Linked DNA regions of Homo sapiens: region 2 is linked to region 1. The links are contacts of gene promoters, found by promoter capture Hi-C in human tissues and cell types (Jung and others, 2019). All regions are on one chromosome and are shown on one strand. Each heading gives the region's core, a stretch centred on a gene start or on the middle of the fragment in contact. The rest is flanking DNA. Distances are from core to core; before and after follow the strand shown.

The links. The method cuts DNA at HindIII sites, captures the fragments that hold promoters and counts their contacts. A contact is called where the count stands out against the background at its distance.
Region 2: a contact is called between a fragment that was not itself captured here and the fragment with the promoter of MSANTD3-TMEFF1 in region 1, in 2 of the 25 tissues and cell types used here (bladder and hippocampus).

Annotation. Positions count from the first base shown.
Region 1 is chr9:100,439,438-100,443,749 of GRCh38, reverse strand. It overlaps MSANTD3-TMEFF1 (MSANTD3-TMEFF1 readthrough), which reads right to left and starts at 1,844. Exons shown (of 10, transcript NM_001198812.1): 1 at 1,394-1,844. The coding sequence starts at 1,811. MSANTD3 (Myb/SANT DNA binding domain containing 3) reads right to left here. Exons shown (of 3, transcript NM_080655.3): 2 at 1,394-1,844. The coding sequence starts at 1,811. The HindIII fragment of the contact is 6,684 bases long and covers 1-2,806 here.
Region 2 is chr9:100,501,405-100,505,716 of GRCh38, reverse strand. All of the region lies in intron 2 of MSANTD3-TMEFF1 (MSANTD3-TMEFF1 readthrough), which reads right to left. All of the region lies in intron 2 of TMEFF1 (transmembrane protein with EGF like and two follistatin like domains 1), which reads right to left. Among named protein-coding and RNA genes, the nearest start is that of TMEFF1, 30 kb to the right of the region's middle. The HindIII fragment of the contact is 6,920 bases long and covers 1-4,312 here.

The sequences.
Region 1 (4,312 bases), core at 595-3,094:
TGCATTTCCACCCTCCCCTTGCCTAGAGACATTTCAATAGCCCCTAAATTCCAACCTTTTGAAGCTATGACACACTATCATTGCATCCTTCATTATATGACAGTGTTTTTTTCCCCAAGAATTATGTATGACATATTTTTCTCTTTTTAATGGAAGTATATTAAACTTAAAGTTAATTTCTTTTGGAGCTTTTCAAGATCCCTGGGGTGCCACAAACCAAAACTGTGGATCACAATAGTATAATGGCAAAAAATGCTGGTTTTTAATCTGGGTGAATGCTAAAACAGGCGTTTATCATATTATTCTTTGCACTTTTTTTAAAGTTTGAAATAGTTCTTTTTTTTTTTTTTGAGATGGAGTTTTGCTCTTGTTGCCTACGCTGGCGTGCAGTGGTGCTATCTTGGCTCACCACAACCTCTGCCTCCCGAATTCAAGCGATTCTCCTGCCTCAGCCTCCCAAGTAGCTGGGATTACAGGCATGCACCACCACGCCCGGCTAATTTTGTATTTTTAGTAGAGACGGGGTTTCTCCATGTTGGTCAGGCTGGTCTCAAACTCCCAACCTCGGGTGATCCGCCCACCTCAGCCTCCCAAAGTGCTGGGATTACAGGCATGAGCCACAGAACCCAGCCGGTTGACTCTTTTAATATGGCCTTTTGAGTGGCCTACTGCAATGCTTTGCAAATAATAAGGACCTCCAAAAATATTTTTTGAAAAAAGTGAAATTGAGTGGATGAATACAAATCTTCATACAATTCTCTTTAACATATTTGAGACAGGCTGATAGGCAACTGCAGCACCTCACTAATAAGAACTCCATTAATCCAGTCCCTTATTTTTCTTTATGTTTAAGTAATAATAAAGTCTCCAAGAGAGCTAGCACAATGATGTAAACAAGTACTTTTGTTTTTATATATTACTTTTTTTTTTTTTTTTTTTTTGAGACAGGGTCTCACTCCGTCACCCAGGCTGGAGTGCAGTGGCGCAATAACAGCTCACTGCAGCTTCCACCTCCTGGGCTCAAGTTATCCTCCAGCCTCAGCCTCCCGAGTAGCTGGAACTACAGGTGCATGCTACCATGCCCAGCTAATTTTTTCTATTTTTTGTAGAAACAGGGGTCTCACTTTGTTGCCCAGGGTGGTCTCAAATTCCTGAGCTCAAGCCATCCTCCCGCCTCAGCATCCCAAAGTGCTGGGATTACAGGCACGAGCCACCACGCCCACTTCTATAAGACTTTGAATGTCCTATATAATCCTGAGATCTTGAATTAGGAAAATTGGATTTGATACAAAAGTTTCATTTTTAGAAGTTCCCTCAAAGTGGAGGGTTTTAAAATTAAAATGTCAAACAGATACCCAGTGAGAGCGTGCACACTGGCATCAGGAACGGATACCTTGGGCTGAGGCGTCGGGGTGGTATTCGGGCTCCTCCTCCGGGGGGCTCTGCAGGAAGTAGAGCTGCTCCGGCAGCATGCTGGCGATCTTCTCCTTCCCTAGGACGTGGGTACTCAGGAGAGGGCTGACGCTCCGTTTCACTTTCTCTCTCCTTTCATGGGCCATAATTTTTTTGGTCCGAGCCTTGATGTTCTCCCAGCACTTCTTCAGCTGTTTGAAATCCCGCAGGGACACGCTGGGCTGAGAGTTGTATTCGTGGGCCAGCGCCTGCCAGGTACGCTGCTTAAGGGCAATAGTTCGCGCATCACTTTTCTTACATTCCAGCACATATTTATACTTTTCTACTAAAGCCAGCAGGATGCTCTTTTCCAATTCTGAGAAGTATTTGGCAGGCTTTATAATTTCGTTGTTTTGCATTTTCCACTGTATTTCTCCTGGCCGCTAGCTATCCTGTAAAAGGAAGTTTGAAGCAATGATTACCAACTCCAGCAAAAACAATGCCTATAAATCACTGAAGCTTAATTCCTGACTTGATTCCCTTGTCTGAAATACAGTACTTTCTTTTCCATTAAGGTTGAATTATGATATTCAGGACTCTGGAGAATATTTAGAAATGTACTAGGAATGGGGTTTTATTTCAAAGTGGATTGTTGTGGCTATACTGTGACTATCTGGTATATAACAGCAAAAAAAGAAAAGTTGAACATTTTTTTTTTGAAACGGAGTCTCGCTCTTGTCACCCAGGCTGGAGTGCAGTGGCACGACCTGAGCTCACTGCAACCTCCACCTCCCGGGTTCAGGCAATTCTCCTGCCTCAGCCTCCTGAGTAGCTGGGATTACAGGTGCCTGTCACCACGCCCGGCTAATTTTTTTTTTGTAGTTTTGGTAGAGACAGGGTTTCACCATGTTGGGCAGGCTGGTCTCGAACTACTGACCTCAAGTGATCTGCCTGCCTCGGCCTCCCAAAGTGCTGGGATTACAGGCGTGAGCCACCACGCCCGGCCTAGACTCTGATTTGTTAATTGATTTTTCTTTAATATTAGGGAACTGATTATTCCCCCAAATCATGTTAGCCAGTTTTAGAACTAAACAGCTTTCCAAAACTTTTGTCACAGCTGAGGACAAAAGAAGCCACCGTGTACTCAAATATAAAATATGATGTGGGAGGCTGAGGCAGGCGGACCACGAGGTCAGGAGTTCCAGACCAGCCTGACCAGCATGGTGAAACCCCATCTCTACTAAAAATACAAAAATTAGCTGGGCGTGGTGGCGTGCGCCTGTAATCCCAGCTAGTCAGGAGGCTGAGGCAGGAGAACTACTTGAACCCGGGAGGTGGAGGTTGCAGTGAGCCAAGATCGTGCCACTGCAATCCAGCCTGGGTGACAGAGTGAGACTCCATCTCAAAAAAAAAAAAAAAAAAAAAAGATGTACAGCCGGGCACAGTGGCTCACACCTGTAATCCCAGCACTTTGGGAGGCTGAGGTAGGTAAATTGCTTGAGCCCAGGAGTTCGAGACTAGCATGGGCAACAAGGCAAAACCCTGTCTCTAAAAAAAAAAAAAAAAAAAAAAAAAAAGGGAAGAAAAAGAAGAAAAAAAAATAGCCAGGTGTGGTGGCATGCACCTGTAATCCCAGCTACTTGGGAGGCTGAGGTAGGAGGACTGCTTGAGCCCAGGAGGTCGAGGCTACAGTGAGCCATGTTTGCACCACCGCACTCCAGCCTGGATGACAAAGGAGACACTGTCTCAAAAAAAAAAAAAAAAAAATTTGACGTTTTCATCACTCTGTGGCATGTACCTGGAGCAATGGCAACCTCAGTTTTTTCATCTTTAAAATGAGGGGTTGGAGTCTGTGATCCTTCAGGTATGCGGGCTGTTTTTTAAAATCCTAAGTAAACAATGTATGTAATTTCAGATGTGAAAGGGCCTAGGCACTTAAGAGACTGAGTCCAGTGTCCCTCTTTACATTCCTCAAGTCTCTTTCCAGCTGAGAGAAGAAAGGGTCAGAAAGGTGAAGTGGATTGCACAAGATCACAAAGATGGTGACATAGAAAGTCCAGAGCTTGGACTGCCCTAGGAGTCTGGTATTCTTAGAATCATTCCACAGCTGTTTCTCGGCCTCTTGCCTTGGGTCACTCCAAATGATTCAACCATGATTCCCATAAGTCACTTTGTCATCCTCTACAGTGCCGGGTCAGCATGTTTCACACAACAGGTGCTTAGTGAATGTCTTCTTCCAGTGAAGTGTATGAAACCTATGTGTGTTTTAGGACTGCACGCTATTCCCATATCTTTCAATCACAGAAAGCTTCCTATAAAATTAACCTCTCAAATATGTTACGGCAAAAATGTAGCTAAGCAACACTGACTGCGGCAATAAAGTAAGCATTATCGTTCCCCTAGTTGGGAAGGGCCTACGTATTCCCAGTCCTTCTTACATTCTCCAAGCCTCTGATTTCTCAGAGTAACAGGCATGCATCAAGATACTGATGAGGCAGTCCATTTAAAACTGACCAATCATGTCAAAAAATTAGGAACTGGGCAGGCGTAATGGCTCACACCTGTAATCCCAGGACTTTGGGAGGCTGAGGCGGGCGGATCACGAGGTCAGGAGATGGAGACCATCCTGGCTAACACAGTGAAACCCCGTCTCTACTAAAATTACAAAAAAAAAAAAAAAATTAGCTGGGAGTGGTGGCAGACGCCTGTAGTCCCAGCTATTCGGGAGGCTGAGGCAGGAGAATTGCTTGACCCCGGGGGGCGGAGCTTGCAGTGAGCTGAGATCGCGCCACTGCACTCCAGCCTGGATGACAGAGCAAGACTCTGTCTCGAAAAAAAAATTAAAAAAAAAAAAATTAGGAACCAACTTGAAAAGAGCCCCACAAGCCAAAAATGGAATAATTTGAAATCAAAGGTCATA
Region 2 (4,312 bases), core at 1,111-3,610, 61 kb before region 1:
TGACAGACGGACATTACTGTAATTTACCAGATAGATTCCAAGGATGCCTGAAGTACTGCAAAGGAAAGGACAGTTCCATACAACAAAAGCAAGTACCACACAACTTCTGAATGTCTCTCTGGCTATTCATGTAGGAATTTTGACAAGACTTTCCTTAATACTACAAATCAGTCTGATCTGTTATAACTTATCCTAATATTGGTTTTTATTCTAGCATCTACTAGACATCTACATTTTTGTTTCATGTACTCCTGGTATGAAATTGCTTTTAGTTGTTTTTTTTTTTTTTTTTTTTTTTTTTTTTTTGAGACAGGGTCTAGGTCTGTCGCCAGGTTGGAGTGCAGTGGTGCAATCTAGGCTCACTGCTATCTCCGCCTCCCAGGTTCATGCAATTCTCCTGCCTCAGCCTCCCAAGTAGCTGGGATTACAGGCACACACCACCATGCCCAGCCAATTTTTGTATTTTTAGTAGAGACGGGGTTTCACCATGTTGGCCAGGATGGTCTTGAACTCCTGACCTCGTGATCCGCCCACCTCGGCCTCCCAAAGTGCTGGGATTACAGGCATGAGCCACCGCGCCCGACCTGCTTTTAATTTTTTTAATCCAAACATTTATCATAAGCAGACACAAACATCTGATGACTGTATTTTCTTCTATGGTAATCATACCTAAGCATTTACATTCTGAAATATTTATTTTATTATAAATTACTTTTATTTCTCCTTTACATTGCAATCATGCATTAAATTCATTTCTTTAATCATGTGTTTATGTAGGTTAATTTATCCGTGAATTTCTTCTAAGGATAGTAAAGAAACTGAATATTAAAATGAAGCATTAATTCTGATAGGGCTGAGAATCTTCACATTTTTTATCCAGGAAGCATTAGTCTACAACTTTAAGTGTCCTAACTTAAATATCATAAACCATGTGAAGCACATGGTTGAATGCTTAGAGCTAAGGCTATAAAGCCAAAAATGTTTGAATTCAAATCCTGGGCCCACCAACCATGTGACTATGGGCTAGCACCATCACCATGTTCAATGGTGTACAACGGTGATTATAATACTACCTACCTAACAAAGTTGTTATGAAGATTAAATAAGATAATCTACCTTTGGCATTTCTATCTGACCATGGTACATTCTCAATAAACATTAGCTATTTTGCTATTGCTAGTATCATTTCTCAGTCGTAAGTATTTGCCAATAGTCACTAATAAGTGGAAGAGCCACAATTCCTCCCATATGATGTATTTTAACCACTACACACTCAAGTTAAGTCAGTGGTGTATTGCCATCTGTCACTTGGTGACACTGAGCAGAGGACTTAATGTCTCTGAAATTCACCCTCACAAGCATATACCTAGGAGTGAGTGTGAGATGGGAGAAGTAGACCTGCTGTTGGTCATTCTCAGTTTCCATGGGTCTCTCCTGGAAGCCTCTAATTATGCTAATGGACAAATTATGGGATTTGGACAATTTTAACAACATGCGATTTCTGACTTATGCACTGATGGTGGATTCTAAGTCTAACCTAAAGTCTGCTCCTCTATATTGCCACCCTTGTTGGGAGGAAGAACTCTCCCCTGTACCTTTTCTTTAGCTAGAAGAATGTGATGATGTTGCCAGCTATTTCAAGTAGTTTAGAAAGATGGAGCAGTGTACGACTCTGGAACTGCATCCATTCAAGCATTTATTGTGTACCTACTGTGTGTCAGGAACTATGCTGAATACAGCAAGTAGAAAATAATAACAAGGTTGTGATGATTAATTTTCTATGTCAACTTGACTGGGCCCCATGGTGCCCAGACTAAACATCATTTCTGGGTTTATCTGTGAAGGAATTTCTAGATGAGATTAATATTTGCATCAGTGGATCAAGTAAAGCAGACTGCCCTCCCCAGTGTGAGTGGGCACTATTCAATCCACTGAAGAACTGAATAGAATTCTTCTCTCCTTTTGCTTGACCGCTTAAGCTAGGACATCGATCTTCTCCTGGTGCCCAGGCCTTCAGTCTCAGATAGGGACTTGTACCACTGGCTTTCCTGGGCTAGTATACAGATGACGGACTGTAGGACTTCTCAGCCTCCATAATCAAATGAGCTAATTCCTTATTGCTCGCTCGCTCTCACATTCGTGTGTGTGTGTGTGTGTGTGTGTGTGTGTGTGTGTGTGTGTTTCTGTTTCTCTGGAGAACTGTGACTAATAAAGGGTCTAATAAGAGGGCATGGCACCTAGCAAGAGCAGACATTGATAAATACAGGAAGAAAGACACATAGTTCAGAGAATGCCAGAACAAAGATGAAGAAAGAAAACAGGAAAAAAAGTCATAGACTGTACTCTATACAAAGTTTTCAGGGAAAGATGCAGTATTAATCATGTTTCTATATACCAAATTAGCAAAAGTGGCTTTGTTTATATGTGTGGCAAGATAATAGCTCTTATTAGCAGACTAAAAAAAAAAACAATTTGAATTTTTATTTAAAATCCTGTTATCTGTTAAAATGTATTTAAATAATGTCCCAGAAAGCTTCTATTTAGCACTAAAAGCATGCTGAATCATAAGCAAGTTTTTAAAATGAATTGAAAGATACTGCTAAAGCATCCAGCAGAGAAGGGTTTAATGGGCATGTCAGGTCATTATTTTTAAGCTGGCAATAACCTAAGTCTACCCTGAACAGATTTATAATCTTATAAAGGAAGGCAGAATGGTCAAAGGAAGGTTCACTCGGCAGCAAGATCAAACTATACTGTAAGCCCTGAGGCAGTTTGCTCCTACAAGGCAAGGAACCAGTCTTTAAACATCTTTACATCCTCAGCATCTAGTCTCATACCCAGCACAAGTAAGCACTGGATAAATGTCTAATGGTGTCAACTCCCAACATATTTTCCTTCCCTGCTTTGCCACAAGGTAAAAATGCAAGGAATTCAGACAGATCATGGAAGGATTTTCTAGCTGTTCAAGTATATTTTTTAAAACGTCAAAAAGGCTATTTCTTTATAATCTTAGAGTTTCAGGGAAATACTTTTCTCAAAAAATGAAGAAAAGCAGGGCTGGGCATAGCAGCTCATACCCGTAATCCCAGCACTTTGGGACGCCAAGGTGGGAAGACTGCTTGAGCCCAGGAGTTCAAGACCAGTCTGGGCAACCTAGAGGTCTTGGCGCTACAAAAAAAAATTTTTTTAATCAGCCAGGTGTGGTGATGCACACCTGCTGTCCCAGCTACTCAGGAGGCTGGGGTGGGAAGATCATTTGAGCCCAGGAGGTCAAGGCTACAGTAAGCTATGATTGTGTCACTGCACTCCCGCCTAGGCAACAGAGTGAGACCCCGTCTCAAACAAAAAAAAAGACAGATAAATATAAGGTGAAAATCTGAAATTTCTTTGTGTCTAAAATATAAACAAAATGAAAATGAAACTAAGATATACAATTATTTTTGTCAATTAAAAATACATAGTGTTAAAAAGAAAAACAAAAAAATGAAATTAGGATAACTTCTTTAAAATATAGAGTTCTTTGGAATCTATTGTTCCTGGAAAGGAACAATCTCCAAGATAAATACTATTAAATGATTTAATATTTAAAAGGGGAATTAAACAAATTTATATACACACAAAATACTTCTAGAAGGAAATGCAAGAAGTAACAGATGTTGCCTTTGAGAAGAGTTGACAGTCTGGAGTGGAAGCTTTTTTTGCTACATATCTTCTTATATTGTTCAAGTTGTTTACTATGGGCATACATTACTCTTTTTAAAAATAAATCAAAGTAGCCAGGCGCGGTGGCTCATGCCTGTAATCCCAGCACTTTGGGAGGCCAAGGCAGGCGGTTCACGAGGTCAAGAGTTCGAGACCATCCTGGCCAACATGGTGAAATCCCGTCTCTACTAAAAACACAAAAATTAGCTGGGTGTGGTGGCATGCACCTGCAGTCCCAGTTACTAGGGAGGCTGAGGCAGGAGAATCATTTGAACCCGGGAGGCGGAGGTTGCAGTGAGCCACGATCGCACCACTGCACTCCAGCCTGGCAACAGAGCGAGGCTCCATCTCAAAAAATAATAATAAATAAATAAAAATAAATAAATAAATCAAAGCAGCAGGTTCTCTTGAGAGTTTATGAGTTAATGAATATCAAATGCTCAGCATAGTAAGCAATATATATATATTCCAATATTGTATTGCACAGAGTATGTATATATGCATACACATGTCTTTACAAATCAACATGAGGGAAAAAGAAAATACCCCAGAAACTAGACACAGAATATGAAATATTAATTCACAAAAAAAAATGGTAACAAATATACAG